Regions from separate parts of the Homo sapiens genome. Here regions 1 and 3 are each linked to region 2. Evidence: promoter capture Hi-C in 16 types of primary human blood cells and fetal thymus (Javierre and others, 2016). All regions are on one chromosome and are shown on one strand. The core of a region is centred on a gene start or on the middle of the fragment in contact, and the rest is flanking DNA. Distances in the headings are between cores, read along the strand shown. Region 1 overlaps CYP2U1-AS1 (CYP2U1 and SGMS2 antisense RNA 1). Region 2 holds the start of SGMS2 (sphingomyelin synthase 2). Region 3 has its middle 34 kb from the start of PAPSS1.

Region 1 (4,343 bases), core at 1,717-4,216, 92 kb after region 2:
CCAAAGGTAAAATGTGCTCAGATTATAGGCACTTGTAATTCTAACCTTGTATCCATTTGATCAAAGAAAATTTGTAGAACATTTTTACCTCTCATGATCACAATCATTAGTGTCTCCCTTTATAACGACCTATGTTTTGTTTACTTTGAAACACCAAATTTGTTGTCTTGGTTTTTTTTACATGACAGAACTCATGCAGTTTCTTTTTTAGTTGAAAGTTCACATCTTGCCCCTTGAATAGTTTGAACATTTCTTTCTTAATTCTTTTTTGTTTTTGTTTTGCACTGTAAAACTGATGAAAACTTTAAGCCAATCTTAATGCACTAGCCTCTGTAGTGTAAGGAAGTGTGAGAAGGAGTTTCTTAATGAGTTTACACGTTTAAATCAAGCATATTATAAGTTATATGCCATGTGTTGAAGGCTTTTCTATTTATATATATAAAGATTTTTAGTATTTGTTTTTAGTGTCCTTGTGTTGCAATAATTTAACTCCTTTGACTCAGTTGCTGAAAATATTTCTTCTATTAAGAAGTGCTCTTGACTTCAACACCCAAACACTGAAAATCATGTCAATGTTACCCAAAGATAAGTTTTTATACAGATACACACCTTATAAGTTCTGATTTATTTTCTTACTCATTATGCTGTGTTCTAAATAAATCATGAATGAGAAGAGTGCTTTATTGTGAAATTATTTAAAACTGTCCTTTAAAAGAAAAAGAGGAAACGATGAACAAAAACTAATCTAATTGCCAAGTTAGAATTCATTATTTAATTTACCTCCTATGCAATGATTAATGCTGCAAAATGTATGGTTATGTTACCGTATATTCACAAAAGAAATATTATTACAAGGTTTCAGAGGTAGCCAATTGCATTCTTTTGGAAATTTACTGTACTGTTTCAATGTGTTAAGTGCCTTGTTGTAAAGTAAAATTTTAAGTCTAGATTCATTATTTTCCTGACATATATTTTTCATTATGATATCTACTGTATGCTATTGTGATAGTTTTATGAAATGCTTACATTTTAATCAAATATGTAAATTTCAGAAGCTCTTTTTTCCTACCCACCAGTACCTTAATCATTGGTTTATCACATTGGATTCAAATTCAGGTTCCTTTTTTGATAAAGAGGAAATTTGTTTTCCATGCTTGTGATTTTGTGTTTGTAAACATTTCAGGAGGAATTTAGGAGTGTAACTATAGTTTATACTTCTATAATGTTGTCTTACATTTACATTTTTAAGTGCCTAATTGTTAAAACTGATTTATGTTTCTCTTCTAAAGAGGATATGTGTACTTGGTTTCTAATCTCTTTGGTTTTGCTTTTTAAAAAATGCAAGAGCCTATACTTTGTATTTACCTAATAAACCACAGTGACATCAACAGTCTTTTCAAAATTAATATTACTGTTTCTTTCCATTTACAAAATGTGTCATTTTTAAAAGAGTTCTAGTTTTAGAGTACTTGTTAAAACCGCAAGAGGGATATTTTCTTCAAGCACTATTTTTAAAATAAAGTAATAACTTTCAATTAGTGGATTTAAGGTGAAAAATAATTCAGAACAATACAAGGTCATTCATGGAGAAGAAAATAATCACACATTCCATGATTCTGATTTTCATTGTTCACAAGAGGACAAAGTCACTCATGAAAAGCAGACCCCTTTCTGTCACTAGGTCTCCTTATGCCTTCACAAGACAGAAGCCTAAGGTAATATCCTCAACTGGAGTTTGCTAGACATTGCAACAGCAAGGTGCGGTAAGTAGGTTTTGAATCTGCTGATGACAAATGCCCCTCCTCCAAGATAAATTTTGTAAAAGCAATTCATTGGGGTGAAGTGAATAGGATAAGATAATAAGGTTCAAAGAGTAAGTTACAGGAGATAGTCCAGGCTTTATCCTTAGATTATCTAGAAATGATGGAGCATAGATCAGAATAGTTTTTCTGCCACCTCCACCCAGACCTTGGATGAAAAGCTCATCACAGTGACGTTCCCATCATCCTGTGGAAACACTGGCATGCTGATTTTGCTGGCCATATAGCTTCAAAGTCTGCCCTTATCTAGAATGCATCGTGCAAGAAACTAACGTGAACTCTTGTTCATCGTGCAAGGGACTAACAGGAACTTTTACTAAGGGGCTAATTCATTCTGGGTTCCATTTGTTTTCTTCATACAAAAGCTCTTGAGTGTGCCTCCTACGAGAGGATAAAACTCTCTGGGCATTTTTGAAAGTACTGAGGATAGTGAAGTTTTTTAAAGTAGTACTCTGTCTCTTACTCCAATAAGGAATCAATAGGCACTTTACAACTGCAGTTAAAGTGGCATTTTCAATCACACTAATCATGGGCAAGTTTCCTAAGTAATTAAAACCACTTTAAAACAAAAAAGAATGGTGATCATTCATGCTTGGTTTGAGATCTCTACCTCACAGCTGTTGATTTTAGAATTAGAATGTAGTGGTGTGTCCAAACAAGTTTTGCCACCAGGATTAGATGCTAGTCTCACTAGAAAGTGAATTTAAATTCGCTTACTTCAACCCCCATCTCATCCCCACCACATTTAAAGATAGAAAAGTATCTATATGATCTATATGTCTACTTAACGACAGACTCAGCTTCAAGTCTGTAAGGTTTTTTGATTGCAGGTCATTACAGTCTTGACCCTGCGTAATGCCTTCAGTCTCTCCAGATGATCATGCTATTAAGAGGTCGCCACAACTTTTGATAATATTCATCTTCCCTGATATTTTGAATCTCCTGCTGAGACACAGGAAGACAGGAAACTAGACTATGTTCACCAACCATTTGAGTGATTCTGTGTGCCATACACTAGAGCTGCTGATACATAAAATTCCTGACATTTAAGTGGAAATGTCTGCACTATAAGACTCGCCCATAACTCCTAAGTCACATCATAAGAATTTCAATTGCATAAAATATATGCAAGTCTTAGGAAATGTTTGTAAGTTTTAGGAAATGTTGGTCAGGGCCTTCATAGCCAGCTAGATGTTTCAGAAGTGGAAGTGAATTGCTTTTCTGGATGCATTGTCACTGAATTTTACCATTCTTTTCTATTTAATATTTTAGCAAAATTGCACAATAGACATCAAATTTTATCTCATCCAAAGGTTGGGAGAGGTCATATTTTATCTCATCCAAAGGTTGGGAGAGGTCATGTTTTATCTCATCCAAAGGTTGGGAGAGGTAATGTGCCATGGGCTCTGAGCATCCATCCAGCACATTTTTTGCTGGGCATGCTGAGTGCAAGGCCCTAACTCCTGTTACCCAGGCCATTTCTCAGGATTGTATTTGCAGTAAGCAATGTTAAGTAATGAGGTAGCATATCACCCTAAATAAAGAGAAGTCTTTTTTTCTGTTTACTGTAAAGCAGTAAAAATGCGAAGCTCAGTGGTCCTCAGTTGAGGTGAAAACCCACTGCATATGTAACATCTGTCTTCACCTCTCCAAGTCATCCCCATGGGATTTGAGAGACAAGGGAGCCAAAGGGACCATGCTGACACTTTGGATACTGCTATGCTATGTGTAGTGAAGTCCTTTGTCTCTGACTCAGGAGTCTTGTGTCTTCTAGCATCCAATGAAACAGGAACAGGCTAACTTGTGGGCTTGTAAGTAAAGTCATAGATGCTTCACGAATTGACATGTAAATTTTATTTTCTTCTAATAAATAAGAATATCAGAAGCATAATACTGTATTAAGTTAGGATAGTAATGGATTATGTATTACTGTGTGTGTATATAGATATATGTATATAATGCACATTTAATCCATATGTGGCACCCGTAATCAAACATAGCATTTTACAGTTAACGCTTGGCATACATTTTTTAATCTAAGTTAGGATAGTAATGGATTATGTATTACTATGTGTATGTATATAGATATATATATATATAAAATGCACATTTAATCCATATGTGGCACCTGTAATCAAACATAGCATTTTACAGTTAACGCTTGGCATACATTCTTTAATCTTCACAAAACCCTGTGAAGTAAGCAAGGCAAGAGAAGGTGACCCCATTTTATGACATGAAAGGGTTCATAAATGTTAGAGCTAGAACTTGAGTTTTGTTTTTGTGGGCTGTAGCTTGCTGCCTCCCTGTCGTAATTACTATGGTCACCATCACAGTTAGGGTTTTGTTAGGAAATTAGTTTCAGAAGCAAACTGTCCTTGGGACAGGTTCTTTGTCACATGCTACAGATTTTTCTTAAAATTACAATTTACTAATTTCAAAGGGGAGAAAAGTTGGCTCCTAGTGCAAAATGGCCTTGAAGGCAAAAGAACTCCTCAAGAATCCTCGAGTGTCTGAACCCAC
Region 2 (4,371 bases), core at 119-2,618:
TGGAGCTCCTCATATATTCTGGTTATTAATCCCTTGTCAGATGGATAGTTCCCATTCTGTGGGTTGTCTCTTCAGTTTGTTTCCTTTGCTGTGCAGAAGCTTTTTAGCTTAATATGATCCCATTTGTCCATTTTCTTTGGTTGCCTGTACTGTGACGACATCTTGAAGTTGCGAGTTTGGGGATTGCCTGCCTTGTATATTCTTTTCTGTTACCATCATCTTTAATAGCCACAAATGACTGTTGACCCACATGATATCTGCACTAGAAACCCAAAGATTCCCGTCATTATTTTTGTTGATTATATGGAAGCACCCATAAACCAGCGCAAATCCTAAACATAATTATCTTGTCCAGAAGGAGACATTAATGTAAAACTTATGTCAAGAAAGATTTAGCCACATTCCCTCGGATTGGTCATTCCTAGTTAGAGTCCTTGAGGCTGCCATCGTTTACTTTGAAAACTGCCCAGCAGGTGTATGAATAGCAACTCCAGGACAATGTAGAACCATTACCATTTTAAAGACAGCAATCCCCCTTTTAAAAAACTACTGAGGCCTTCGAAGAAACCACACGGCTGCCTTGGGCCCCAAAAGCTGCGGAAAAGCGCAGTATTCAGTTAAGCAAATAACTACTTACACTGTTTATTTTGGTTACGATTCCTTAAGTGAGAAGTAAATCAATTAACAGGACAAATGACACGATGGTTAGGCACGAAAGGGACAGTGCTGCCACCTCATTAGCTTGGAGCAACCTTCCAGCTCATACCATGCGGACTGATGACTAACCTTGCCAGGCAACGCTGTGAGGTTTGGAAACCCACCTCTTTGACCTAGGCCCGGTCAACACCGATAAACCCTCTGAATCAACGCTGGCGCTCCCAAGCCCACTCACACGCCGTCAGGAAGCAGTTTCCGAAACAGGCCGGGTGCGGGGGTGGGGGATCCCGTTCCAGCCCCACCCCTGAAAGTTGCTGGGAGTGGCACCCAAAGAACTTTCCCAGATTGATCTCTGTTGCCGCTCAGGGAGGTCAGCTCCAGGCCCTCAGCCTTTCGGCCGGGAGCCAAACTGCCCTGCCTGCCAAGCCCCTCCTTCTCTGCACCTTAAACAGCCGCGAGGGGAGAGTCGGCTGGGATTTTCTTCTTAAGAAGTCGCGCAGGTTTTTCGAGCTCCACTCTGCGCCAGGAGAGCCACGGCAGCAGGAACGGGCACTGCTGCCACCGGGCCGACGGGTGAGTCACTGTTTGGAAATGGAGTGGGCGGGCGAGGGTGTGAGAGAATGAATGATGTCAAGAGCGCGCTGGGCGCAGGGCGCAGGGAGCGGGCCGCGCGCGGCGGGCGGGGAGAGCGGGCGCGGGGCCGCGGTCAACACTGAGCGCCGCGCCGTGGGCCGAGTGGGGCGGGGAGACCCAGCCCTCGGCGCGCACGGAGCCTGGCCGGTGCTGCAGCGCCGCCGAGTGCGGCCTCGGGGGCGGCGGCCGCGGGAGGGACCCGGAGAGCTGCTTCCCCTAGTCAGGCCGCGGCGTGGGAGGGCGAGACCCCGAGCAAACTTTCTAGCGGCTTCGGCCCGAGGGTGGTGACGCCCGGGGCTGGTCGCGGCGGCTGCGGCAGCGGGCTCCATCCCCTGGCAAATCCCCTTCCCGGGAGCAAGTGCCTTCAGCTGGGAGTGTCTGGAGCCCTGGCCACCAGCGGGTAAGGAGCGCGCGGAGGGGCCAGGAGGAGGATGGGCTGGGGAGCGGAGAGTCCTCCGAAGCGCGGGAGGGGAAAGGTGGATTGCGAAGCGGGGACGTGGCTCTAATCCGGCCCCCACCCTCCCCGCCCAGGGCATGCTTCCTCGATTTTGTGGTCTGGAGGAGAGATGTGTGCCTTAGTCTCCTTCCTCTGAGCAGTCATCTCATTCATTTGCAACCCATTTCGGGTACCCCGGTCCTGGCGTTGGAAGGGCACAGGTTAAACCCCAGATTGTCCAGAACCACTCCGGAGGTCAGGGCTGAAGTTCAGTTGGTGGAGGAGGGACTGTGTGTGTGTGTTTGTGTGTGTGGTTTTTCTTTTCTTTCTCTTTTTTTTTTTTTTTTTTTTTGAGAGGCACTTACTGATGATGTGTGAACAGTAACAGCCCAGCTCTGGGCAGCCCACACCGAAACCCTTCAACGTGTGGCATTCCAGAGCTGCTCCCTTTACGGAAGGGAAGACTTGGTTTCTCAGCGAAAATAAGGGGCGGGGAACCCCTGTCAACATCCATCCAGAGGTATGGATAATCATTAATTATCCACGGCTTGAAACCAACTCAAAATGTTATGTCCTGTAGTCTTTTTTATTTATTAATGTTGCCGGTCCTCTATTTCAAGTCTTGCCTGCTCTGAAATGACCTTAAAATCATTTTGACATGTGTGTTATATTTTGAAGAGATTCAACTGTTTAGTGTCACTGGATTCGGCGTGGGTTTTCAATCTGTACCTAACTTTTCAAATCCTTGGTTTCATTACCAGTCTCCTCTATTAACGGTGGGTGCTCAGGCACATTAAACATTCTGAACCAGTAAAATGGGATTATAGCTACTTCAGATAATAAGGTGGATTAAATAAGGATTAATAATGAGGATAATAATGAGGATTAAAGCGCAAAAGACTTCTCATAATGTCTGGTACAAAGCAGACCCCAACAAATTATAGCTGTTTATATATAAATAATAGTGTGTTGCAGCTGGCTTAGGTAATAACCAATTAATTTCCACAGAATGTCCTCCTTATAAGCCTGGTGGGCCGAGGGTTAGCATGTGAAATCCTTTGGCAAGTTCCTTAGATTGGGAAGTGATGTTTTCAGCAAGTTAAACATTTTTAGTACGGATACCTGAGAAGGTTATGGTTTCCATCCTGTGTCATGGGAACTGCCATTTACTGTTTAAACAATGTCAGAGCAATGGCTGAAAGTGACAACCTGGAATTTACAGGAAGAAAGGACGTGAGGAAGCTAACTTTACCTTTACCTTTTTTTTTTCCTAAAGAAGCAGTGCAAGCAGTGCAAAATTTCCTCTTTATGGCCCTTTCCTTGGTCTTCTAATGTTCTTACTTCACAATAGTCTGGTTGAAGTGTTTTTTTTTTTAACAAGTTAATGTTTAATTTGGTTCCTTTGGTTTCATTTTTAAGTAAAGCTAGTTGACTTGTGAACCTAGAGGGAAACACTTGGACACCTTGAGGTGGCTGCACCTTGTTCTGAGTTTCTCCCCTCGCAGAATCTCATAAAAGCCCTAGGAAATGTTTGGAAGAAACTTTAGCACTTGTGCACGTTATTGAAGACATTTGCTCTTACCATAACTATAACAACTTACAGGGTGAAAGATCTGGGAGCTGTCCTACGACAGTACCGTGTAGTGAGATCATGGACATGGGAATCCAGGAGACCTGAGGCTCTCTGAGCTGTGTTCCTTTGAGCAAGTTTACTTAAACTCTTTGGGATTTTTGTGGGACTTTAAACAAAATATAGGGGAAAAATAGAAATAATCTTAGAACTATTAAAATAGACAATGGAGTATCAGTGAGAACTTTTTTTAAAAGTGATGCTTTGAGGTGAGATGTTTCTTTTTTAAAGGAATAATTACTGAGAGTTTTGGACAGTTTTAGACTAAACAATGACTTACCCACCTTTAGCGTGTTGTCTCAATGGAGAAATTGAAGGCTTTGTCTTGAACTACTAGTATCAGATATTTATTTGCTTAACGTTTAGTATGCAACAACTACATAACAGCCACTGTGCTAGGGGCCAGCAATGCAAACGAAGGAGATAGTTGCTACCCCAAAGCTTATAGTCCAGTAGAGACCTCAGGCTGTGATTATCAAGAGGGGAAAAAAGGAGTCAAAAAAGGAGAGTGCTGGGGACTTGGGAAGAGACAAGAAGTGATTAGGCCGTCATAGGCTGCCTCCCACTGATAATAAGAGATCTGGTGGCATTCTGAATGGTCTTGAATAGGGGCTCGTAAATTCTTTATGAGGCCGAATAATAAAAGTATGCCTTGCTTTACACAGTAAAATATTACGGACAAGTGATAGCTCTTCAGTTTAAATAATTTTAAATATTCAAAGCAAGCTTGTTTAAATGAAATCTGAAGGGTCAGCTCAGCTCAACTGAGATATATTTGCTGTGTGGCTGGGTGCAGTGGCTCACACCTGTAATTCCAGCACTTTGGGAGGCCGAGGCAGGCAGATCACTTGACGTCAGAAGTTCAAGAGCAGCCTGGCCAATATGGTAAAACTCCATCTCTACTAAAAATAGAAAAATTAGCCGGGCATGTTGGTGCTCGCCTGTAGTCCCAGATACTCGGGAGGCTGACGCAGGAGAATCGCTTGAACCTGGGAGGTGGAGGTTGCAGTGAGCT
Region 3 (4,184 bases), core at 636-3,135, 71 kb before region 2:
TTCTTTTTCCCAGTCCACCAATTCAAATGCTAATCTCTTCCAGAAACTTCCTCACAGACACACTGAGAAATAATGTCTTACCAGCTATGTGGGCATCTCTTAGCCTGGTCAAGTTGACAGTAAAATTAACCATGACAGGAGTAAACCTAGATAAAGCAAAAACTACAGAAAAACATATGCAAATATGTTTTACCTCTCATCAAATCCTAAAAAAATGATATTTTATCTAAAGAGAAAGAACCCAAGATGGATAAAATCTTTGATATGTTAATTCCATTTTTACTTTGTGTCTATGCATGGAGGAGTATGGGGGTATAGGTATACACAATACATACTTATGTACATACTTGTATAAAAATAAGACCAAGTTATTTTTTCACTTGGACATCAAGGTAGAGATACTATAGATGTCTGTTAAAACAGAATTTGGGGGGAAAATCTGCACTGATTACTCTTTAACCAATCAAACTAGTCAGGACTCCTTTGGTCACAAGTGAGTGAAACAATTCAAATGCAATTAAGACGAAAGTGTCTTTATAGGCATAAAGAACTGAAAAGTTTAGATGTAGTACAAACTTCTAACACAGCTGGTTTGAATGCTCAGAAGACATGAGGATTGTTTCTATGAATCCCTCAGCTCTCCGTCCATCTGTGTCAGCTTTACTCTGGAAAAAGTTTTTAATGAGGAATATCAGTTTGGCCCGCAGCTGTTCCAGGCTGCCATCCTAGACTAAAAACTTCAGCAGAAAGACAGGAACCAGAGAGATGCAGGTCTGTCATGCTAGGAGGTGTCCAGGGACTGCATCTTATCTTTCTGTCCTTGACAATAAACCCACCTATTCTAGAACTTATCACAAGGCTGGGGTGAGGGCAGTGTATGGAATGTTCTGACTGGCCAGACTAAGCCACAGGTCTTCTGGAACTTGGGGAGGGGCTGCACAGTAGGAGATGTTATTCCCACACAAATGATAAGAAAAGATGGAAAATGGAATAATTCACTAAGGAAAGTTGGAAGTTCTTCTACCAATATTGGGAGGGATAAATACTTGACAAATAGCACCTTCATATTAACCTGCTTAATTTCTTTCTTAGAAGGGTATACAATAGGATGGGGTGGGAAGATTCAGTTATTTGTACTTGATAGTTATTTGAATTCTAGAGAAGGGAGAGTTTATTCAGTTAAAAAAAAAGTAGATTCAAGAAAAGTTTAAGGACTGTGGAAAAGATAACTAGCTCTCAGGGACAGTAGCAAAGAGCAACTGGCCAAAAAATCATACTACTGAAGTTTTACAGTTGATTTCCTTTGCCTTTTCTGACCTAGCATCACCTTTTGAGCACCCTTTCCACATCTAGGCAACTTTCTGCCTTTTAATCCACCTCCACATGGTAGAAGCCAGAAAGCTCACTTTGCCACACTCACTTGCGGCGAAGCTACAGGCATATAACCTAGGCTACCCCAATCACACACACCCATGTGAGACATCATCCCAGAAATGAGCTACATGGCAAGGCAGGAGCTGAAGGAAATCCACATTTTGGCATAGGTAGCTGCTGAGATGTCATCTCTCAAGGTCAGAATGACAGAATTCCTGATGTTTCATATCCAGAGTGAGTGGTGTATGCTTTAGTGTCCAGTTGCATCAGAGCCTTTACTGCCACAATCTCACAATGTGGTTAGAGCATTGTTTCTGACTGCATAGCCTCCAAACCCAACTCTTTAACCCTCCAAAGACTCTCTGAGCTATCTAATATTCCTTAAGAAATATCCTTTTTCTGCTTAAACTAGCAAGAATCTTAATTTGTAAACAAAGACCCTAATTGAAACAGTGACTGTATCAAATTTCTAGGGCTGCCATTACAAACTACCACAGAGTAAGTGGCTTAAACAACAGAAATTTATTTTCTCATAGGTATGGAGGCTAGAAGTTAGAGATCAAGGAGTCTTCAGGGTTGGTTTCTTCTGAGGCCCCTCTCCTTGTCCAGGTGGCCATGTTCTCCCTGTGTCCTCACATGGTTTTCCCTCTGCAGCCATCTGTGTCCAAATTTCCACTTCTTATAGGGACGCTAGTCATATTGGATTAGGACTCACTCTAATTACCTCTTTAAAAACGCTGTCTCCAAATACAGTCACATTTTGAGGTACTGGAGGATTAAGACTTCAACATATAAATCTGGCAGAGACACAGATCAGCTTGTAACAGTGACCATAACTGTACCAGAGATAACAAAGAGGACCAAGATTTGCAGAGAAGAAATTTACCGTTGCTATCAAAGAAGTTAATGTACATACTCTACAAATGAAAGAGGAGTATTAAAATATTTATATTGGAAAGACAAATTTATGTACTGAAATTTACCACAAGTATAGCATGGTGTAAAAGAGAAAACTGAGCAATCGTTAGATGAGTTTACCAGTGCAGACACTAGATCCTAATAATAAAATTGGGTCAAAATTATTTGGATAGTTGACTAAACTTTATATTGAATGTTATACAGTGACCCCAACCTAAATTCTGTACTTACTGTAGGAATAAGTATAGCCCTCCTAGATTAAGAACACGGACATTGGACAGTCTCTTGGTTTACACAAATCACAGTTTTGCCACTTACCAGCTTTGCAAGTTTTCTGTACCTCAATTTTCTCATTTGTAAAATGGGAGTAATTAACGGCATAATTTTAAAAGTCAAATATGCATTATATGCAAAACATTTATAATACCTGGCTGATAATGGTTTGGATTTGTGTCCCCACCCAAATCTCATGTTGAATTGTAATCCCCAATGTTGGAAGAGAGTCCTGGTAGGAGGTGATTGGATCATGGGGGAGGATTTCCCCCTTGCTGTTCTCATGATAGTGAGCGAGTTCTCACAATATCTGGTTGTTTAAAGGTGTGTAGCACCTCCCCCTTCACTCTCTTCCTCCTGCTCTGGCCATGTAAGATATGCCTCCTTCCTCATCACCTTCCGTCATGATTGTAAGTTTCCTGAGGCCTCCCTAGCCATGATCACTGTACAGCCTGTGGAACCATAAGCCAAATAAACCTCCTTTTTTTTTTTTTTTAAATAAATTACCCAGTCTCAGGAAGTTCTTTATAGCAATGAGAGAATGGACTAATACAGAAAATTGGTACTGGGAGTTGGGCATTGCTATAAAGATACCTCAAAATGTGGAAGTAGCTGTGGAACTTTTTAATGGGCAGAGGTTGGAACAGTTTGAAGAGCAAAGAAGAAGACAGGAAGATGAGGGAAGGTTTGGAACTTCCTAGAGACCTGTTAAAAATGCTGGTAGTGATATAAACAATGAAGTCCAGGCTGTGGTGGTCTCAGCTGGAAATGAAGAACTTATTGGGAACTGGAGCAAAGGTCACTCTTGCTATGCTTTAGCAGAGAGACTGGTGGCATTGTGCCGCTGCTCTAGGAATCTGTGGAACTTTGAACTTGAGAAAGATGATTTAGGGTTTCTGGCAGAAGAAATTTCTAATCAGCAAAGCATTCGAGATGTGGTTTGGCTGCTTCTAACAGAATGGGCTCATATATGTGAGCAAAGAGATTATCTGAAACTGAAACTTATATTTAAAAGGAAGAAGAGCGTAAGAGTCTGGAAAATTTGCAGCCTGACCATGTGCTAGAAAAGAAAAAAAAAATTTGTTTGCGGGGGAAATTCATGCCAGCTGCAGAAATTTGCATAAGTAAGGAGGAGCTGAATGTTAATAGTCAAGACAATGGGGAAAATGCCTCAAAGGCATTTCAGAGAACTTCAAGGCAGCCCCTCCCAATACAAGTCCAGAGGCCTAGGAGGGAAGAGTGATTTTGTGGGCCAGGCCCAGGACTCCATTACTCTGTGCAGCCTGAGGACTCTGCTTCTTGTATCCCCACTGCTTCAACTCTAGCCATGGCTAAAAGGGCCCCAGATATGTCTAAGGCTGCTGCTCCAGAGGGTGCAAGCCTTAAGCCTTGGCTTCCACGTGGTGTTAAGCCTGTGGTACACAGAGGGCAAGAGTTGAGGCTTAGCAGCCTCCACCTAGATTTCAGAAGATGTATGGAAACACCCGGATGTTCAGGCAGAAGTTCAGCTGCAAAGGCAGAGCCCTCGTGGAGAACCTCTACTGGGGCAGTACAGAGAGGAAATGTGGGATTTGAGCCCTCACACAGAGTCCCCACTGGGCCACTCCCTAGTGGAGCTG

Evidence for each region. The method cuts DNA at HindIII sites, captures the fragments that hold promoters and counts their contacts. A CHiCAGO score of 5 or more calls a contact.
Region 1: a fragment that was not itself captured here is called in contact with the fragment with the promoter of SGMS2 in region 2 in 3 of 17 cell types (M0 macrophages, monocytes and M2 macrophages); the score reaches 6.7 in M0 macrophages.
Region 3: a contact is called between a fragment that was not itself captured here and the fragment with the promoter of SGMS2 in region 2, in 2 of 17 cell types (M2 macrophages and monocytes). The highest score is 5.9, in M2 macrophages.

The regions. Positions count from the first base shown.
Region 1 is chr4:107,913,642-107,917,984 of GRCh38, forward strand. The region is part of intron 1 of CYP2U1-AS1 (CYP2U1 and SGMS2 antisense RNA 1); the gene reads right to left. The region is part of intron 1 of LOC107986298 (a long non-coding RNA gene); the gene reads right to left. It overlaps SGMS2 (sphingomyelin synthase 2), which reads left to right. Exons shown (of 7, transcript NM_001375905.1): 7 at 1-1,406. Among named protein-coding and RNA genes, the nearest start is that of CYP2U1, 16 kb to the right of the region's middle. The HindIII fragment of the contact is 6,871 bases long and covers 1-4,343 here.
Region 2 is chr4:107,823,564-107,827,934 of GRCh38, forward strand. SGMS2 (sphingomyelin synthase 2) reads left to right here and starts at 1,369. Exons shown (of 7, transcript NM_001375905.1): 1 at 1,369-1,690. RefSeq lists an enhancer at 3,587-4,371. The HindIII fragment of the contact is 3,698 bases long and covers 98-3,795 here.
Region 3 is chr4:107,752,514-107,756,697 of GRCh38, forward strand. No RefSeq gene overlaps it. Among named protein-coding and RNA genes, the nearest start is that of PAPSS1, 34 kb to the left of the region's middle. The HindIII fragment of the contact is 7,632 bases long and covers 1-4,184 here.